2 separate regions of the Homo sapiens genome follow, and region 2 is linked to region 1. The links are contacts of gene promoters, found by promoter capture Hi-C in blood cells and fetal thymus (Javierre and others, 2016). All regions are on one chromosome and are shown on one strand. The core of a region is centred on a gene start or on the middle of the fragment in contact, and the rest is flanking DNA. Distances in the headings are between cores, read along the strand shown. Region 1 holds the start of LINC01148 (long intergenic non-protein coding RNA 1148). Region 2 overlaps LINC02328 (long intergenic non-protein coding RNA 2328).

What was found. Contacts are between HindIII fragments. The CHiCAGO score rates a contact against its expected background, and 5 or more counts as called.
Region 2: a contact is called between a fragment that was not itself captured here and the fragment with the promoter of LINC01148 in region 1, in 2 of 17 cell types (M0 macrophages and M1 macrophages). The highest score is 9.5, in M0 macrophages.

Annotation. Positions count from the first base shown.
Region 1 is chr14:86,901,291-86,907,601 of GRCh38, forward strand. LINC01148 (long intergenic non-protein coding RNA 1148) reads left to right here and starts at 4,488. Exons shown (of 5, transcript NR_038445.1): 1 at 4,488-4,759. The HindIII fragment of the contact is 4,593 bases long and covers 1,621-6,213 here.
Region 2 is chr14:86,066,978-86,072,449 of GRCh38, forward strand. It overlaps LINC02328 (long intergenic non-protein coding RNA 2328), which reads left to right. Exons shown (of 4, transcript NR_110155.1): 2 at 3,886-3,990. Among named protein-coding and RNA genes, the nearest start is that of LINC02316, 6.7 kb to the left of the region's middle. The HindIII fragment of the contact is 994 bases long and covers 2,908-3,901 here.

The DNA of each region.
Region 1 (6,311 bases), core at 3,238-5,737:
TATTTGTAGATAATTAATATCATGGAACCTAGGCAGAGGTAATGAGAATATGTTGTAATTGGTACCCATGGGCACCAATGACCAATAAGAAACAGGCCAATGAGCCACACCTGTGTGTGCCAGACGGTATCTCTGAGTATACCTAACAATTCTGTAGTCAGTCACAAAGGAGAAAAAAGATTTTTTTACTTTTATGCAAAAATCTTCATTTGAATATTTACATGCAGTAGGAAAGGCACAAATGGAGAGTGAACATATCTAGATTTATGCATATTTTTAAACGAATGAACACAAAAGCAGAACTCTTGAGGCCATTTATGGCTTGGGCCCATAAACAGCAATGTGTCACCTCCCTTGTTGATTATATTGAGCCCCAGAGTTAGCCCTGTTTCAAGGGAAGGGACCACATTCGTGTGTGAACCCCAGGGACCTTGCTTCATTAGAAACCACCAATGCAACAGGCTATCCCGGGAGGTTCTAGTTGAGACAGTTCTAGTATAGGGAAGGCCTCTCTGAGAAAAGACCTGAAGCAAAAGTGGATATAAAAGAGCAAGTCATGAAAAGATGTCGGGGGAAGCTTCTGAGCCAACAGAACAGCAAGTAGAATGGCCTGAAAGTGGGACAGTACTGTATGTACAAGGATTGGAAAGATGACTATGAATACAGTGGAAGGAATAAGTACAAGAGTGATAAGAAATAAGGTCAGAAAGAGAGATAGGTTCATATTATGAAGAGTCTTAACGAGCATGGACAGAAGATTACATTTCATAATTTTTCCAGTAGGAAATAATTAAAGAGTATAGGACAAAGAAGTCACACAATTTGATTTTTTAAAAGTCATTCATCTTCTGTGTGAATTGATTGACTGGGGCAAGAGTGGAAGCAGGGAAGTGAGTTAGGAGTTAATTGTTGCCTTCTTCGTGAGAACAATGCAAGAATTGGTTGTGGTGGTGACAGAGGATTAAGAGATAGATTCTTGGGAATATTTTGCAGGCAAAACTGACAAGACTTGGTAATGAATGTGATATGGATTTTCAGGCAGAGAGAGTCATGATCTGAGCATGAATAACAAAGTCAGGATGATGCCATTTATAGATATGGAGAAGGCCGGAGGCACTGGTTGGTGGGAGCTTGAGAAATCAAGAGATCTATTTTGGACTTGTGAAGTTGAGATGCTTATTCAACATTCAAATGAATGTGAAAACGAATGTTACAACTCAGGGACTGAAGAGAGTCCAAAACATTAATCTGGTCTCTACTGCCATTGGACAATATGATATCCCTTAGGGAAGGAGTATAAATTGGTTAAGACTAACATAGAAGATAGAGATTTTGAGGTCAGAAAGAGGACGAAGGACCCACAAACGAGACTAAGGGAGAGTAGACAGAACTCTTATCCAGTCGCATTAACAAAAACTTTAGCTGCAGGGAGAGCTTGAGTCAGATGAAGGAGGCACCAGTTGCAGGGAGACAAATTAGGAGGCTTTTGTAATGACACAGGGGAGAGATAACAGACTTAAATTTAGGCAGTAGAAGCGGGAGGGGGAGGGAAATTTTGGAATCATTCAGGAAGAGAAATAACAGGATTCTGTGCCTTACAATATATGAAAGTTATGCTGAAGCTTTCCTATTAAATTTTTTTCTGCATTGATTAGGGATTTAAGTCTCTGAGATCAAATAATTCTCTTAACTGAAGATTCAGTCATTTGAAAATTATGAAAATGACATAGAACATGGTTTGTATGGAAACACTGAATGAAAGAGCAGTGGAGTGGCTGCTCTTGTAACACAGAAAGAGACAAAACCATTGAAATACAGTTTCTTTGGTACAGATTAGGATGCATCAGGCAAATCCAGATATCATCCATCTGCTTTCTTTGAAAACAGTCAAAGGTGCTTCAAGACTTTCTTCTAGTCTTATTTTGATTGCTTATAGTCTTCTAAAAACCAATCTGCAAAAGAGAAAAGTCAGTGAGAACTCATTACTACACCTCTATTTTGTTACTGCTAGTATGAACATTGGTACTTTAGAAAATACTTTGATTAGGCCAGGCGCGGTGGCTCACGCCTGTAATCCCAGCACTTTGGGAGGCCGAAGCGGGAGGATCACGAGGTCAGAAATCGAGATCATTCTGCTAACACTGGGAAACACCGTCTCTACTAAAAATACAAAAAATTAGCTGGGCGTGGTGGCGAGCGCCTGTAGTCCCAGCTACTCGGGAGGCTGAGACAGGAGAATGACGTGAACGCGGGAGGTGGAGCTTGCAGTGAGCTGAGATTGTGCCATTGCACTCCAGCCTGGGCAACAGAGCGAGACTCTGTCTCAAAAAGAAAAAAAAAGAGAAAAGAAAAAAATACTTTTGATTTTACTTTGTATTAAATAAACTCCTGCTGCCCCCTAGTGGCAATTTATTGGGGAACAGAATCTCTGGGTCTATTGTCTGTTTTGCGGCAGAAACATGTATTGGCAACACCAATGTGGTACATAGAAGATTATCCCCCACATTAAGGCATTTTATAGACATCACAACAATGACCTTGTATTCATAATTGCATAACACAGTGGTTTGTCTGTTATCATTGCAATTAATGGAACTCAATCTGGGATTGTTCAAATGATGGCACCACAAGCCATTTGGCAATTGGAAGTCAGTCATTTCCTGATATGGCCTAGTAATTAGTTACTCGAATTACTTAAATTCTGAGTCTTTTTACACGCAACCAAGGCATCATCATCATGTGAACACCTGTGTTTACTCGACCTTGAGTAGACATAATAGCAAAAGAGTCTGTCCCCTATGAAGTTTAAAAATCCAGGCCGCGTGTTTCAATTCCTTATTTCCTGTCCCATCTTTGAACTCTTCCCAGGTTTATCGATTGTAGGAAATGCCATTCCCTTCAGGAGAAACCCAACTCCCAATCATACTGTTGGGGTATTCGCCTTTGGCCTAAAGGACACAATCACATCACAACACAATAATCCAAGTTTAGTGTTTGCTCAGTCTAGTTCCTTTTCATAGTCTCTTTAGGGTTGAAATAAAGAACAGCCTTCATCACTTTCCTAAGATTCTTCCATCACAGCTTCTCATTTACAAACAGCTGCTCAAAAACAGCTATATACAACTCCATTAGAAAAGTCTAAAATTTAAAAACAGAAGAAAAGTGTTTTAAATCAAACAAAGGTACTATTTTTCCCAAACAGGCATATAAAATTTGCACTTATTTTATATTGAAAGATACATGCAACTTCATTTACCCGGCAGAACAATAATTTGTATGGCAAACATATCTCTGTGTCTGGAATTGGTTGGTTCTTGGTCTGACTTCAAGAGTGAAGCCACCACCCTTGCGGTGAGTGTTACAGTTCTTAAAGACGGCGTGTCCAGAGTTTGTTCCTTCTGAAGTTCGGATGTGTTCGGAGTTTCTTCCTTCTGGTGGGTTCGTGGTCTCCCCGGCTCAGGAGTGAAGCTGCACACCTTCCCAGTGTGTGTTACAACTCTTAAGACGGCGCGTCTGGAGTTGTTCCTTTCTCCCGGTGGGTTTGTGGTCTCGGTGGCTTCAGGAGTGAAACTGCAGACCTTCGCAGTGAGTGTTCCAGCTCATAAAGGCAGTGTGGACCCAAAGAATGAGCAGCAGCAAGATTTACTGCAGAGTGAGAGAACAACGCTCCCACAATGCAGAAGGAGACCCCAACGGTTGCCACTGCTAGGTCAGGCAGCCTGCTTTTATTCTCTTATCTGGCCTCATCCACATCCTGCTGATTGGTCCATTTTACAGAGAGCCGATTGGTCTGTTTTACAGAGAGCTGATTGGTCCGTTTTGACAGGGTGCTGATTGGTGCATTTACAATCCCTGAGCTAGACACAAAAGTTCTCCACGTCCCCACTAGATTAGCTAGATACAGAGTGCTGACTGGTGTATTTACAAACCCTCAGCTAGACACAAAGTGCTGATTGGTGCATTTACAAACCTTGAGCTAGATACAGAGTGCCAATTGGTGTATTCACAATCCCTTAACTAGACATAAAGATTCTCAAGTCCCCACTTGACTCAGGAGCCCAGCTGGCTTCACCTGGTGGATCTCCCACTGGGGCCCCAGGTGGAGGTGCTTACCAGCCCCGCGCCGTGCGCCCGCACTCCTCAGCCCTTGGGCGGTTGATGGGACCAGGCGCCTTGGAGCAGGAGGCGGCGTTCGTCCGGGAGACTCAGGCCGCGCAGGAGCCCACGGCGTCGTCGGGGCGGGGAGACTCAGGCATGGCAGGCTACAGGTCCCAAGCCCTGCCCCGCGGGGGAGCAGCTAAGGCCCAGCGAGAAATCGAGCGCAGCGCCGGTGGGCCAGCATTGCTGGGGGAACCGGCGCACCCTCCACAGCTGCTGGCCAGGATGCTAAGCCCCTCACTACCAGGGGCCGGCAGGGCCGGCTGGCCGCTCCGAGTGCGCGGCCCGCCAAGCCCACGCCCACCCGGAACTCTAGCTGGCCCGCAAGCGCAGCACGCAGCCCCGGTTCCCGCCCGTGCCTCTCCCTCCACACCTCCCTGCAGGCTGAGGGAGCCGGCTCCGGTCTCGGCCATCCCAGGAAGGGGCTCCCACAGTGCAGCGGCGGGCTGAAGGGCTCCTCAAGCGTGGCCAGAGTGGGCGCCAAGGCCGAGGAGGCGCCAAGAGGGAGCGAGGGCTGTGAGGACTGACAGCACGCTGTCACCTCGTCTCTACTTAGGTGAATGATGCCTTTGGCCTGCTTATGTCTTCCATAGCCACAATGGTGAGTACTTGTTTTCTACTCAGCTAATAAGAAAATAAGTTTTGGCGGTTTTCTGAGAGCAAAAGTATTTATTGCTTGCCCAAGATAAATCGACCTCTAAAGAGACAGAAACTATTTTAAAACAGTTTTAAAAACAACATTTTTCCGTTTACACAGAAAGTTTTAGTGTCAATTTCACCCCCTCCCCAAATACTATACCCTTTATAAATTATGGGTGTTTGTTTTTGTTTTTGTTTTTTGTTGTTGGTGGTGGTTGGTTGGTTGGTTTGTTTTGTGCCTCTTACTCTTAAAGTATGGTCATTTAGGAAGTCTATGTAATTTTGTGTCCCCTGATTGCCCCCTCTTAGAAAATTGAAATTCTTCAAGGTGGAAGAAACAACATATCTATATTTGTAATCCAAGTATCTAGAGATAACCTGGCTTATAGTAGGTGATCAGTAAAAGTTTGTTGAATAGAACCAAAAAAAGAGGAATATAGATGATACTGATATTAAAAATAAAATAAAAATGACATCCACTGAGTGTTAGGATATCACCGAGGGAAACCCCAGAAGATTATTTAGTATTGATTGACAAAAATTAACATTTCTAAATGATGCTTTGAATTAAGGATTCTTGGTCTATTCATGACAAGTCTTCCAATGTGAATTTATATCTCAAAATATTACATAACCTGTAAAGCTGAATCCATGAATGTGAAGTCCAGCTAAATTTGAGACTGATTCTAAATACAGTGGTAGAGTATGCAGTTTGCTATTGTTGTCTTCTGTCTTTCATAACAAAATAATTTATTTTCTTCCTATATTGGTCAGGAATATCCTGTCAAGAAGGGAGGTTATCTAATTGTTGAAATATCAACATTTTAAAAGAAGACTCCAGAAAAGAGGGTAATGCTAAACATAAAGTCATGTTATGATAATGAAGGTACTTCAGGTGCATTATGGAGCACATGTTGAGAAGGGGTTTTTGGCAAATAATGTCCCTCAATTATAAGACGTGGGCATCACTTGATCACATCAAATGAGTCTATAGTTTAAGCCAGTCATAATTATTATACCTTGTAGCACATGCAAAGATTTATCTCAGCGCTTTTATAGTTTAACCCTATGTATATTAAAGGGCTAGAAACTCAATGTCATCTTTCCGAATAAACTTCCTCATGCGTCATATTTTTCATTGAAATCCTTTGTTTGTATTAATATTCTTAAAACCTATGATGTAGCTTTATAAATGAACAAAAATATTGAAGATTTATTTTTAATATTTTAAAAGATACAGATATGAAAAGTTCTTTTAAATCAGGAGATGAGAACTCTTGTGGTATATTCAAATCTCAGTTTTCATGGCAGTGATAATCAATGACATATCTCTATTTATCCCAACAATGAATATAAATAATAATAACAGAATCAATAACTAGTTTCCAGTGGTTTTAACAGAATCCATTTATTTCAAGCTTTAGCACTGATTTTTTTAAGTCCTAAAGGAAATTAATTGCGTTAGTTTTCATTTTAATTGATTTTTAAAGTTCTCTTTCATAAAGGAGCAGTTT
Region 2 (5,472 bases), core at 2,155-4,654, 840 kb before region 1:
AGTTAACCCCTACATATAAAAATAAGCACTGAGAAAACAGGAACTTGGTATAATATATATTGTAAAAACATATGGTCAGTATCCAACAAGAGTGTCAACCTCAAAACCAAGAAAACATACTGCTCCCACTAGACAAAAATTAAAATTGGGAAGCCTGTTAAGTGCACAGCCAGAAAAAAATATGATGTATATTATAGGAAATGGGAAAGATAAACCAAACAGGAAAAGATAAAATATAAAGTTGCCAACTTTGTAAGAAATTTCATCAAGATGGGTCCTTATCTTTCACAGATAGATAATCATACCTATGATGGAAACTGTAAGCAAAGGATTGAGCCAGAACAAAATACTTTTCAGTTTCTGTTTATTCGTTATTTTTCTTTTATAGGAAACAAAATATCAATAGAAGCATAACTGGAGGTTTTTGGGATTAAGCCCTCGGCCAGTCATGTCTGCAGAGAACATATTTTCCTTGTTTCTAGTGGCAAATTATTTAGACGTTATCTTGGATTTTCTGAAACTTATAATTTCAAATATTTTCTTTATTTTAGACCACGTATCAAGGATTGAGTTTTGGTACATAAATAGTTTAGCATTTGCTTTTCTCTGAAAGATAGTGTATTAGTGTTCCCTAGAGAACAACACCAGTAGGGTGTGTGTGTGTGTGTGTGAATATGTGTGTGTGTGCATATGTTTGTGTGTATGTATAGAGAGAAGGAAAAAAATAAGTTAATTTATTTTAAAAAATTTAAAGGAATTCCAGTAAGTAATGCATATAACATACAAAATATGTGTTAATTGACTGTTTATGTTATCAGTAAGGCTGCCAGTCAACAGTGGGTTATTAGTAGTTAAGTTTTGGGGGAGTCAAGATTTATACACAGGTTTTTAATTGCTTACGGAGTTAGTGCCCCTCACTCCAATGTTGCTGAAGGTTAACGGTACTAAATTTAAAAAACAGTTATTCTTAAGTAGATCACATACACACATGTAAAATTACAACATGTGTTCTGTGTTCAAACATGTAAAGACATAACGCCGCATATTGTGCTTGATTTTAAATAATTAAAATTCTGCAGAAGTATAGTTTGATAATCGTAATAGATATTCCTAGGAAAGTATAAAGCCCAATTATTTTATATTTAGGTTGTTTCCAATATTGTTTTAGTTGTAAACATATGTGAACTAAATATGTCTAGCATTGGCATAATCATATTACCAGTTCACCTCTTTAATATCCAAGATGTTATGTTTGCTCATGCTCATCAGCTTCTTAATCTTATCATAGGTAAGGATGCTAAACACATTTCTACTGATTTCAAATTATTTAAAATATGTGAATAATTCTGTATATTTTTGTATTTAAGTGGAAAAATAGAAATTAATTCCATATATTTAATCATGATTTTTAGTATAATATTTTATGACCACATATCATAAAATCATTCCTATAAATGGTCAGAATTGTTAACATATGTTTAAAAGACTACTGGAATGAAAAGGATGTATTTTGGATATGAGAATGACATAGGACATGAATTTTGGAGTCCAGGATGAAATGCTATGGACTGAATTGTGTCTCTCCAAAATGCATATATTGAGATCTATCTTAGACAGCTCAGGCTGCTATAGCAAAATATCATAGATTAGCTGGCTTATAAGCAACAGAAATTTATTTATGATAGTTCTGGAGGCTGGGAAATACAATATCAAGGTGCCAGCAGATTCAATGTCTGGTGAGGGCCCATTTTGTTTTCCATAAATGATTGTCTTTCCCCTGTGTCCTCACATGGCAGAAGGAGTGAGGGACTTTTCGGGAATCCCTTTCGTAAGAGTACTAATCCCATTCATGAATGTTCTGTCTTCCAGATCTCATCATTTCTCAAAGAACCCACCTCCAAATACCGTCACATTGGTAATTAGGTTTCTACATATGACTTTTGAGAGGACATAAACCTGCAGTCTGTAACCACCCCTAACCCCCAATGTCATGGTATTTGAAGATGGGGTCTTTGGGAGACTATTAGATTTAAATGAGGTCATGAGAGTAGAGATTAATGTCCTCAATCTCCAACGATGGGATTGGTGGCCTTCATAAAAAAGGTGACAGAGTGCTTGCTGTCTCTTTCTCTCTTTGCCATGTGAGAACATAGCAAGAAGGCATTTCTGGCAAGAAACCAACAATGCTGGCACCGGATTTCTAGCTTCTAACCTGCCACCCAGTCCATGGAGTCTTGAGCAGACTAAGAAAGATACAGTAACAGAGAAGTAAGATTAAAATAAATATTCAAAAAAGCCAATGTTAAAGAAAAAATGAAATCCTTCAGTTAAATATCAAACCTGGTTATTGAAACTAAATGCTATGCAAAGTCACTGAGCTACTTGTGAAATATCAATATTGCATTATCAGCTGATTGAAGTGTCATATTTGCCCCAGTTTTGTCACTTGGATTCCATGTTCATAGTGTACATAGCATATATGGCCAGAAATTTTCAAAGTGCCTGAATATGTGTTGCCAGTTGTAAATACAACTATGTATTTGTCATCAGTTGATGAATCTCGTCTTATATCTTACTCAAATAGGGTAAATTTAAGATATCTTTAAATTTATTATAATGTCATTAAAATTAAAGAGCACCTTATAGTTTTATGCTTTACACATTTCATAATTTACTTAACAAAATAATTTATGTAAATAAACCACTAGATTAAAAAAAAAGTAATTCTAGTGGTTACACATTGGTCCCCAACCTTTAAATTTTCAGGTAAATTCTGTTATCATTCATGGTGGATGTGGTTCTGTCTTAGGCACTAGATATAGTTTCTTAGCCTTATCTTCAACAGCTGTGAAAGAAATCTTCTAGCCCTCTCTGATTTTAATTTAGATGTGGAATAGTCTATCCTGAAGCTTCTTCATCTATAGAGCCCTCTCCACTTAAACTTTAAGGAGCATGACTTGAGATTAGGAAAAAATGTTCTACAAGTTCCTTAATTGTTCTACCGAATCTCACAAGAAGCAGACAGAAGATTTCAGTTGGGTTTAAAAGATTGATAAGCAGATTTCAAAATGGCTCCAGGGCAGATCTTCAAACCATAAATAATACTCTCACTGAGAAATCATGCTTCTAAATATTTTAACTATCTGGAGAGAGTGCTCCTTTCTCAGAAAAGTATATGATGACCTTTCCTTTAAAATAAACTAAATTTATGTATACGTTAATAGTAAATAATTGGTATTCTCAATTTCATACATAATTGGTTTATTTTTCTGTCTTTGACTATTGACTAAGAAAGCACAGGCATCCATCTTAAAACGCCACAGGTAAGACGTCTTCAGAGGCCACCCCTCTAGACTGTGTCATGGAGGTATTGTCTGTGTGCACCCTCATAGAGGTGATGGAAGAAGGTGCATATAATTTTCCCAGAAAAGGATATTGCAGTGAATTATATTTTGCTAGATAAGTAGATGACTAGAGATAAATAGAGATAGCTAAGATAGAGGAAGAGATAGTCAGTGAATGGACTCAGATAAAGAATGCCTTAATTGTGTACTGGCTCTGCTACTCCTAACTGAACTTGAGCGCATCGGTTACTCTCTTTTTATGAAAATAGGATTGTAAAACCTATGAGATGATGGATGACAAAGTAATCTAATATTAGTGACTCAAATGGCACATCCTTGTTTAAATAATCCTAATGCAGTCTGACACATCCTTTAAAACACATGGGGAAAAAGGAGATAATGAAACTCCCGGTTGGAATAATGTGTGTTTGTCTATTCATCTAATTCTTCTTCCTTGAGAAAGAACTGTATTTGACCCAGCATTTTGAAAAGTTGTACCAATATTTGTATACAGCTTTCATATTTTTTTTTTCTCTAATAGGTGCTTTTTTTTCTGAAGCTTTGGTAGTGTAACTGTAAGAGTCCTGGAATTGGAAAAGCAAATCCAGAAGTTGAGTTCCATGACTTTTTTGCTGTTTGCCTTTGGGTAAGTCTACGATATCCAGTTTCTGCATCTCTCAATTTTGTTATAAAGACTAAATAAGGTAGTATACATGTACACATGTACAGCTAGACTGTAAATCACTATTCAAGTATGTGTTGTTTTCATCATGTTTCTATAGAAAAGAGGAAACTTTTCTATTATGTAATACGTTTTTAATTTACAAACTATAAACTTGATTACAATTTGTACTTGCCTTTGGCCATGCTGTGTTTTTTCTAATCGACGAGTGACTGTCATGCAAGAGGTTGGGGGGAAAAGAAAACCCGCATTCTTCACATAGCCCTTGCATTTAAGAGGTTAAAAAATTGTTTTAGGTCACAGACACCTCTGGTTTTCACAGTTTATCATGGTTTCATTTGAGCTTGGTGCCATGAAAGGTGTGATTGGTCTTAATATAGAGTTTTATTTCTAATTATTATTATTATTATTATTATTATTATTATTATTATTATTATTTTGAGACAGTCTCGCTCTGTCGCCCAGGCTGGACACTCTGCTCACTGCAAGCTCCGCCTTCCGGGTTCACGCCATTCTCCTGCCTCAGCCTCCTGAGTAGCTGGGACTACAGGCACCCGCCACCATGCCCGGCTAAGTTTTCGTATTTTTAGTAGAGACGGGGTGTCACCGTGTTAGCCAGGATGGTCTTGATTTCCTGAGCTCGTGATCCGCCTGCCTCAGTCTCCCAAAGTGCTGGGATTACAGGCGTGAGCCACCGCGCCCGGCCAGTTTTACTTCTTAAAGAAAACATCCAAGACAGAAAGATGTGCTTTGTTGTTGTAGTAGTAGAAGGAAGGAAGGAAGGAAGGAAGGAAGGAAGGAAGGAAGGAAGAAAGGGAGAGAGAGAAAGAGAGAAAGAGAGACAGAGAGGAAGGAAAGGAAGGAAGGAAGGAAGGAAGAAAGCAAGGAAGAAAGGAAGAAAGAAAGAGAAAGAAAGGGGGGGAGAGAGAGAGGAGGAAAAGGTAAAAAACATATATTAAATGTTGACACTGGCACCAATATTGAGAAAAGTATCTTCTAAAATCGGAGGTAAACACTACTACATTTTACTGTGCTTAAACATTGTTTTAATGTCCACCAAATGTAGGCACAGAAAAAAACCAACGTACACACATTTTACAGACTCTGACTAAAGGGGAAAACAATTCTAAAGCAGATGTTTCTTTTCTCCCTTTTGAACAAATATTTTATTGAAATTCTTCACACCAGACTTTATTAATTAATCTGAAAAAGAGAGTGAGGGTTGATGCTGATTCTAATCACAGGAAACAGATAACAAACTGTGGTCCATTTTTCCTGTCTCTGTCTGACATCAGCATCTGGTTCCTTGGCAGGCTCTGTCAACCTTTGCGTTGACATCCTAGGAGCTGCCTCAGCTCTGTCAGTTTCCTGGATGTCGCCGTTGGGCTGAGGCTCACCACAATCATTTTATTTTGTTGTTACTCGCACTGGGTCTTAATGAAATTC